Linked DNA regions of Homo sapiens: region 2 is linked to region 1. Evidence: promoter capture Hi-C in 16 types of primary human blood cells and fetal thymus (Javierre and others, 2016). All regions are on one chromosome and are shown on one strand. The core of a region is centred on a gene start or on the middle of the fragment in contact, and the rest is flanking DNA. Distances in the headings are between cores, read along the strand shown. Region 1 holds the start of STK38L (serine/threonine kinase 38 like). Region 2 holds the start of IRAG2 (inositol 1,4,5-triphosphate receptor associated 2).

Region 1 (3,492 bases), core at 676-3,175:
AACAGCTGAACTGAGTCCATTGCTTTGTTATCATTTTTTAGGAAGTCCAATTTCTCCTTTGTTCTTACAGTGTCCTACCTTTAGAAATCAAGTTTTCAGCATAAAAACTAACAAGGACATCTATTTGTTGGCACAAATCATCTCAGTCTCCATTCTTTGACTTATTTTAAAACAAACTCAAGAGCAAATGGCTAGAGAAAAACTGCTTCTATTTAATGTGTGTTTTCTAAGTCTAATTTTTTCATTCCTAGTGGCAAGGCCTTTCAAAAGAGTACAAAAACTACACCCAACTTTGCTTCTCATTCTAAACACATCACAACCAAATGGGAAACATTATCAGCCATCTTAACAAGGAGAAAACAAAGCTAAGTGAGGTCAAACCAAAACATTTTTTAATTCATTGTACCTACCTATTTTGAGATCAGGATTTTTCAGATGGAAGTAGTTTGATGAACTTATGCAATAAAATTATGTAATATCATAATTTAACATAATATTTTAGACTAACTTCTCTCTCCTCAAATAGTCACAAGGGTGGCTAATTCACATACAATACCTCTCAGCCACTGGGGAGAGAGTATAATAAACTTAATTGTTTTACATATCCTGAGGCACAGAGAGAAAGGCCAATCAAATTCAAAGAGGTTTACAGTACCTTATATACATATATGATTGAGACAAAGAACTTTCAAGAATCTGTACTGAGGAAGCAAAAATGGGCTTAAGTACAATAGGCCCTGCCTTAAAGTAGAGAGACCGGTCAAACGTAAGCCCCAGCGCCAAAAAAGACAAGGTCTCACTCATCAATCCCCATCTTACAATCAAGAGGCAGAACTTAAATCACTTAAAGCTGTTTTTTCAGATTTGAGCAGTAAAATAAGCTAATAGGCCATTTCCGATTAAGTGGCTTCTCTCAAAACTTATCACAAGTTATGTGAAATGGGTAAAAGTGTTGGTTCTGCATTTTATCAAGTGAGAAACAATAGCATCCTACTTTTGGACAAGCCACTACTTCCAGAGCCACTAGCCCTCCCCCCACCTCCCACTTCTTTTTATATCATTCCTCCAAACTTAGAACCCGAAAAGCTATTCCACAAAACAAAAGCAGCACCAGTAAAAGGGGAGGCCACTGGTTTTGAAAATAAAGTTTGTTCTTTTGCTGTCAACCTGGCAACTTTTTAAAGGTGAAACGTGCCCTACTCAATCGGTTATACTCTTTTCTACTCCCACACCAAATAACCACTCGTTCGACCTCGATACTAAAGGTGAAAAAAGGAGTGGGAGAAATGATTTTGAAAGGAAGGGGCTACGGGTGCAATGGTAAAGACAGATTCTAAGACTGGTTTTGAGCACTCCGTGGCTTCTAGGAGCTGGGAGGCTTTCCTGAGTCTGTCTTGAGAAATGTTTGGCAATCTGACGCATCAGTTTTTAGGAACGGTACACAAACAGCCCCCACAATTGAAGAGCCATGCTTCGGATCCTGGCTCTGGGTGACATCGGCTGGAGGGCACGGGACGGGAGCGCTGGGGCTACCCGGAGAGGATCCGCGACATTTGTTATTGTTTGTGAAGCCCAGGCGGGGACCCGGAGCGGAGTGCTCGGGGGCCGGGGAGTGGAAGGAGAAAGGAGCAGAGGACAAAGATTCCTCCCCGGGTGCGAGGCTCCCTCTCTGGACACATGGGGCCAGTATCACCCCGGGGAATAAGAGGGCCAAGGCCGTCGCCGCAGGTTCCCCGGAGACATTTCCAGCCCCAGAATTAGCCCGGCTTTCCCTGGACACCCAAAGACACCTAAAATCTCCTCCTGCTCCTGCTCGCAGAGTTGGGGCTGGCGCGGCGAGCTCGGGCCCTCAGCCGAGCGCTACATCCGCGAACTCACCTGCCTCCGGTCGCGCCCGCGGCCGGCTCAGCCTCCGCACGGACCGCAGCCGGCCGGGCGCCCGTCAGCTCCCTTCTCCCCGCTCCGCCCTCGCCCCGCCCCCGGGAGGTGGGACCCGCGGCCTCGCCGGAATCTCAGGGCGGCCTCCCTGAACTCTCGCGAGCCTTGCCTCCTCGGCTTCTCGGTGGCTGGGTCGGTCCGACTCGCCCTGACGTCATACGCACCACAGCCGGAAGTAGCCTTCTGTCGTCAACGCCCGTCTTCCCGGCCCCACCCATCTCCGCCTGGTGAAGGCCAGACTGGTTTTGAGGGAGTTGACTGAACTGTCGCCACTTCCCCTCTCACCAGCCTCACCTCACTGCCGTTTTTACGCCAAACCTGTTCAGGCCTCTCTTGAGAGTGGCCTAATGTGTTGCGACATTAGTCACATTCTAAATGTCATCCGAATTTTTCAAACAGTGCAATGCAAAGAATGTTAGAAATGGAAAGAGAGAATTCACGCATTTTTCAGATTGGGAAACAGTTGTCAACAAAGATGGATCAGCTAAGTTGCTCAGTCGGTAGCTGTGGGGACTCGAAGCCACCCAGGTTCCTTGACGCTTCCATTTCACCATGAGGGGACTCCAGAGACTGGAGAGGAACCAGGATTTGTAAATGCCACAAAAAATACATTAAAAACCTGTTTGAGTTTTCTTGGAAAATCTAAAATAACTACAGTACTGGCCTGCTTTATCAGTAGGATCTGAGAATTGTGCAGAAGAGCACTCCCCTATAGGATGACCCAAAAGGGACAACTTTGGGAAGGTTGATGCAATTTGCGTCTGGGGACAAAACTGGCCTTTGGGAAAGCCAAATGAGAGAATGACTCCCAATTATTGTTGGCAAGTTTATCCTCAATATGAGTATTGGAGGTCTTATAAAATATTCTTAGCTTTTAGCTTACTGAGACAACGTATGAAGCTGGTACTGTGCTTGCAAAAACTATCACTTAGAAATGCCACCTGTCATCTTTAGGTTTCCCAAGAGCAGGTGACACGAGCAAAACACCTAGGAAAGAAGCATTACCTCATTTCTCTTTCTTACACTGTGCTTTTTCATACATAGCTTAGTAGTGGGAAAAGCTCTAGTTTGGTAATTAGTGTATTTTTGGGGAGATCAGCTCCACTTATATGGTCATTTTGAAACTCAAATGACAGTTGTCATATACAAGCATAGGAGGTTTAATTGTGATCAGACAAGCTTGACAGGCCTATACACCCTTCTCCCTGTACTGCACGCATACACATACCATTCAAATGCTACGATAAGATTGAGAACAGTGTATGGTTTGTTCCACAGCAAATTTATGTCTTCAAATGTGCCATACTAGAGTAATATGAACTAGTATAGAGTAGCAGTCTAGGTTAATATGGGATAGCCTAAGACTTTGACCTCTAGTTCCTAAATTCTCCTAAATTGAGACCATTGTAAACAAATTTCCCTGGGAAGTTGTTGAAAGTACCTCAACTGAAACAAATTAGAGCTATGAACCAGAATTTTGGTGGTCTATGGACCCCTTTTCAAAACAGTGTTCTTAAATGCATAAACTACCTAGGGTTACAAAGGAAATTGATA
Region 2 (3,492 bases), core at 639-3,138, 2.2 Mb after region 1:
AAAGATTGAATTTAAAGGGCATTGTTAGAAAGATCGTAAGTACATGGTCATATAAGCAAAATCCTGATTTGTATGGGTTTTTTGGGCAGCAAAAGATACAAGTAACAAGTAAGGGATTTCATAAATCTGGACAGGTTATGCATAACTCAAGACAGAAAGGAAGTGTCCACTCTACGTTATCCAGGCAGAAAAAAATACACGTATCAACCCAGGGCAGCTTTCATATTCTGCTTTTAAGTGTATTTGAATCTATTGGGCCGTGAAGATAAACTGGGAAGACAACAATAGCAAGTTCATAATATCAAGAACGTGCACTTTGGGGTAAGTTATTAAAGTTGACTCTTCTAAGAAAATACTGCAAGAAAATCACAGTGAGGAAGGGGAACAAATTCTTAGTAGTTTATAAAACTCAGGTATAATATTGATTTAATCAAAAGGCAAAACTGGAGCAAAAGAATAGTCCTGGGCACAGTGTCTAAAGCAGACACACCTTAAACCAACTTTGGAATGCCTTATGATTCATGTCTCAACATGAACAGTTCTAATCACAAGGGAACCTTCTCCAATGCCCTCTGAGCAGTAGTAAAATAACACACAGACTGTGTAATTTAAAGACTGCCTTACTAGCTTAACAGAGTGAATCAGAATATTGAAAACTGGCAAATTCAATAAAGGTTTAAAAATTATGACAATAATATGTTGAATAACCACTGCTATTTTAATGTTTTATTTATTTATTTGTTTGTAATTTTTGTAGAGACAGGGTTTCACCATGTTGTCCAGGCTGGTCTCAAACTCCTGGGCTCAAGCAATCTGCCCACCTCGGCCTCCCAAAATGCTGGGATTACAGGGGTGAGCCACTGTGTCCGGCAAACCATTGCTATTTTAAAACTAGACTATTTCTTAAACTCCTAAATAGCTTTCTCAGATAATAGTAGAAAGGGTACAATAAATCCAAAACAAACACAAGTCTGAAATTTTTCATCTCTAGCCTACCTTAAGCTTATATATTAAATATATAATTATTTATAATTATATAACAATTAACAAATAAACAATGTTTATTTCTCAAACCAAGTAACTTTCTATAAAAAGAATATTTATACTGCTAGAACAAGAAACTGGCTGAACAAAAGCAATTGTCTGATAAATGGCTAAATAAGTAAGGTTTATTTTTACCATATTAGGTTTCTAGAATGAAACAATTTTATAGCTAATCTGACATCTGTAATGTGACAACTGTCTTCTCACATAAATCTCTGGTAACTGTTTATATACTTTTGGGTAATACAGAAAAATGACAAATATTCCAATTTTTAAAATGCAAAATATGTATGTAGATGTATGTAGAGAATGCATTAAAACTTTAAAAGAATTTTCACACATTTGATATTTTGATATACACTGAATTCATAATTATTTTGCCCAACCCCCTAAAATTTCCAAAGAAAATAGACGAGCAAGGCCTTTTCTACCATATGAGAGGAAAAAAACTAGCTAATAAAATCAGAGTATAATATATAACAACTTGCAAGTTCAAATATACCATGCATACTAGATTTTTCTCCTTGTTTACTTTTAGAAATTTTGAGAAGTTTTAATTAATTTTAAAAGAAAAAAACAGCCACAGACAAAACCAGCTTATAATAAAAAGGCAAAAAGGGAAGTTAATGGTTAAACCCATGCATGCACCTAGCCACTCAGCAAACCTCTCTGAAAGCCCCACAATATTGCCTTCTCAAACCATTTCATTGTCATAAACTCAGGAATAATATCCTAGCTGTAATCTAGAAAAATGTCTGTAGTCCTATGCCCCGCCTGAGGGTGGACAAAAACTGGGTCATAAATGAATATTTGCTACTCACTCTTCAGTTTCCTTGTCTTCTGCTGAAGTGCCTGGCAAGTGTTCGATAATTCAGTATTTATAGTTTGAAGGTTCCGTTGTTCCGAAATTGCTTCCTCTAATTTATGCAGTAAAGACGTAGCTTTTTCACTGGCAGTGTGGGCTTCTCGATCTCGATCCTTACCCTGGACATGGATAGTTAGTGCTGGATTGTAGCAGTGTGGCCAGGAAAGAAAGCAATGGAGTGCTCACTCTTATGATGCAGGCAAAACTGAAAATGTGTTTTTCTTCTCAGGGAAGTGATAAGCCTCTCCTGAACTTCTGCAATTCTGTGTTTGCATGGGCTTGGTATGCCTGAGCTATTTCTACAGCGGTTAAAGTCCTGATATGTCAAGTTGCCTCTTTCTGCAGAGTCGCCTCTTTCATCAGCAGGCTGTTGATACCGCCTCTCTTACAACTCCCCCTTTACTTCCTCTGCTCACTGTTAGTCGCTAGGGACTGAACTTGCAGTTCCTCTTTGCTTTTTTTTTTTGTTTGTTGTTGTTGTTCCTCCTCCATTTTTATTTCATGGTTTGCAGGGCATCTGAGGAGATGTCCCCTGAATCTAATGTAGCCATGAGCCACCCTACCTGCTCCTCCACATCCTCCAGCCGTTGGCTGGTTTCTTGGAGCCTCTTCCTAAGGATGCCTTCCTGGTTGACAGCATCTTCCTGTAGTTGTTTAATGGCTTCTAGTTGTTTCTGACTGGAGTTAAAAAAAAAAAAAAAAAAAAAAGTCCAAACCGCAAGCTGTCAGTGACATTTCAACTAAGAGTCACCCTGTGAAATTATGACAAACTCAAACTTAACACCACTTCCTTAGAGATCAGAGGAAAAAGTGAAAGTATTTACATATAAATGCTTCACAAATATAAAATCTTAAGCAAAGCTTATTGGTCGCTTAGCCTGACACCCTCACTTTACAGATAAGGACTTCTAGTTTCATCTTTTACACTGGTGTGTTCAGTTCCCACCAGCTGCATTCATAGCACTTAGCATCAGTTGCCAGTTGCCAGTTACTCAGAAGATGGCTCTACAATGAGGTCAGGGTGACAGGTGCAACATTTACACATCACAGCTAGCTTTTACAGAAAAAGAAAGGAATGGGGTAAAGGTAGGGGGAGGGAAAAGAAAAGGAAAGAGAGCTTTGTTTCATGACCTTAGCCTTTCTCCTTAAGGGTTGTCAATCATAGTATAAACACGTGCCACGAGCACAGGAAGGACCGCCCCCAGGCACAGATGAAAGCTGGCGGTTGATATTTCTACTTTAGTCCTCTTTTTGCTGAAGCTTTTCTCCCCATCACCCTTCCCCACCACAGATCTCATGGTGCCATTACGTTACACCTCATTTGGATCCAATTCTAATCTCTAAAACATGTAAAAATGCACTTACTCTCTGTTAGCAGATGAGATTATTTAATGTGTGTTACATGCCAGTACCTCAATGATTATCTGGAAACAATCTGACTTGAATATGGACCTTAACTCAAAGTGGTGATAAATGTCGGGAGTTGCAAAACAGCAAGGAAGACATTGTCAGCCGTAGGCCTTGTGCATGCCTCTCAAACGTTAACATTTAGTCAGAATGCCACTGCACACTGGCACAAATCC

What was found. Contacts are between HindIII fragments. The CHiCAGO score rates a contact against its expected background, and 5 or more counts as called.
Region 2: a contact is called between a fragment that was not itself captured here and the fragment with the promoter of STK38L in region 1, in 1 of 17 cell types (naive CD8 T cells). The highest score is 5.8, in naive CD8 T cells.

The regions. Positions count from the first base shown.
Region 1 is chr12:27,242,719-27,246,210 of GRCh38, reverse strand. STK38L (serine/threonine kinase 38 like) reads right to left here and starts at 1,925. Exons shown (of 14, transcript NM_015000.4): 1 at 1,879-1,925. RefSeq lists enhancers at 517-566, 3,155-3,214 and a silencer at 1,857-2,096. The HindIII fragment of the contact is 3,512 bases long and covers 1-3,119 here.
Region 2 is chr12:25,051,330-25,054,821 of GRCh38, reverse strand. It overlaps IRAG2 (inositol 1,4,5-triphosphate receptor associated 2), which reads right to left and starts at 2,116. Exons shown (of 22, transcript NM_001366544.2): 1 at 1,866-2,116. RefSeq lists enhancers at 2,242-2,611, 2,652-2,761. The HindIII fragment of the contact is 1,768 bases long and covers 1,005-2,772 here.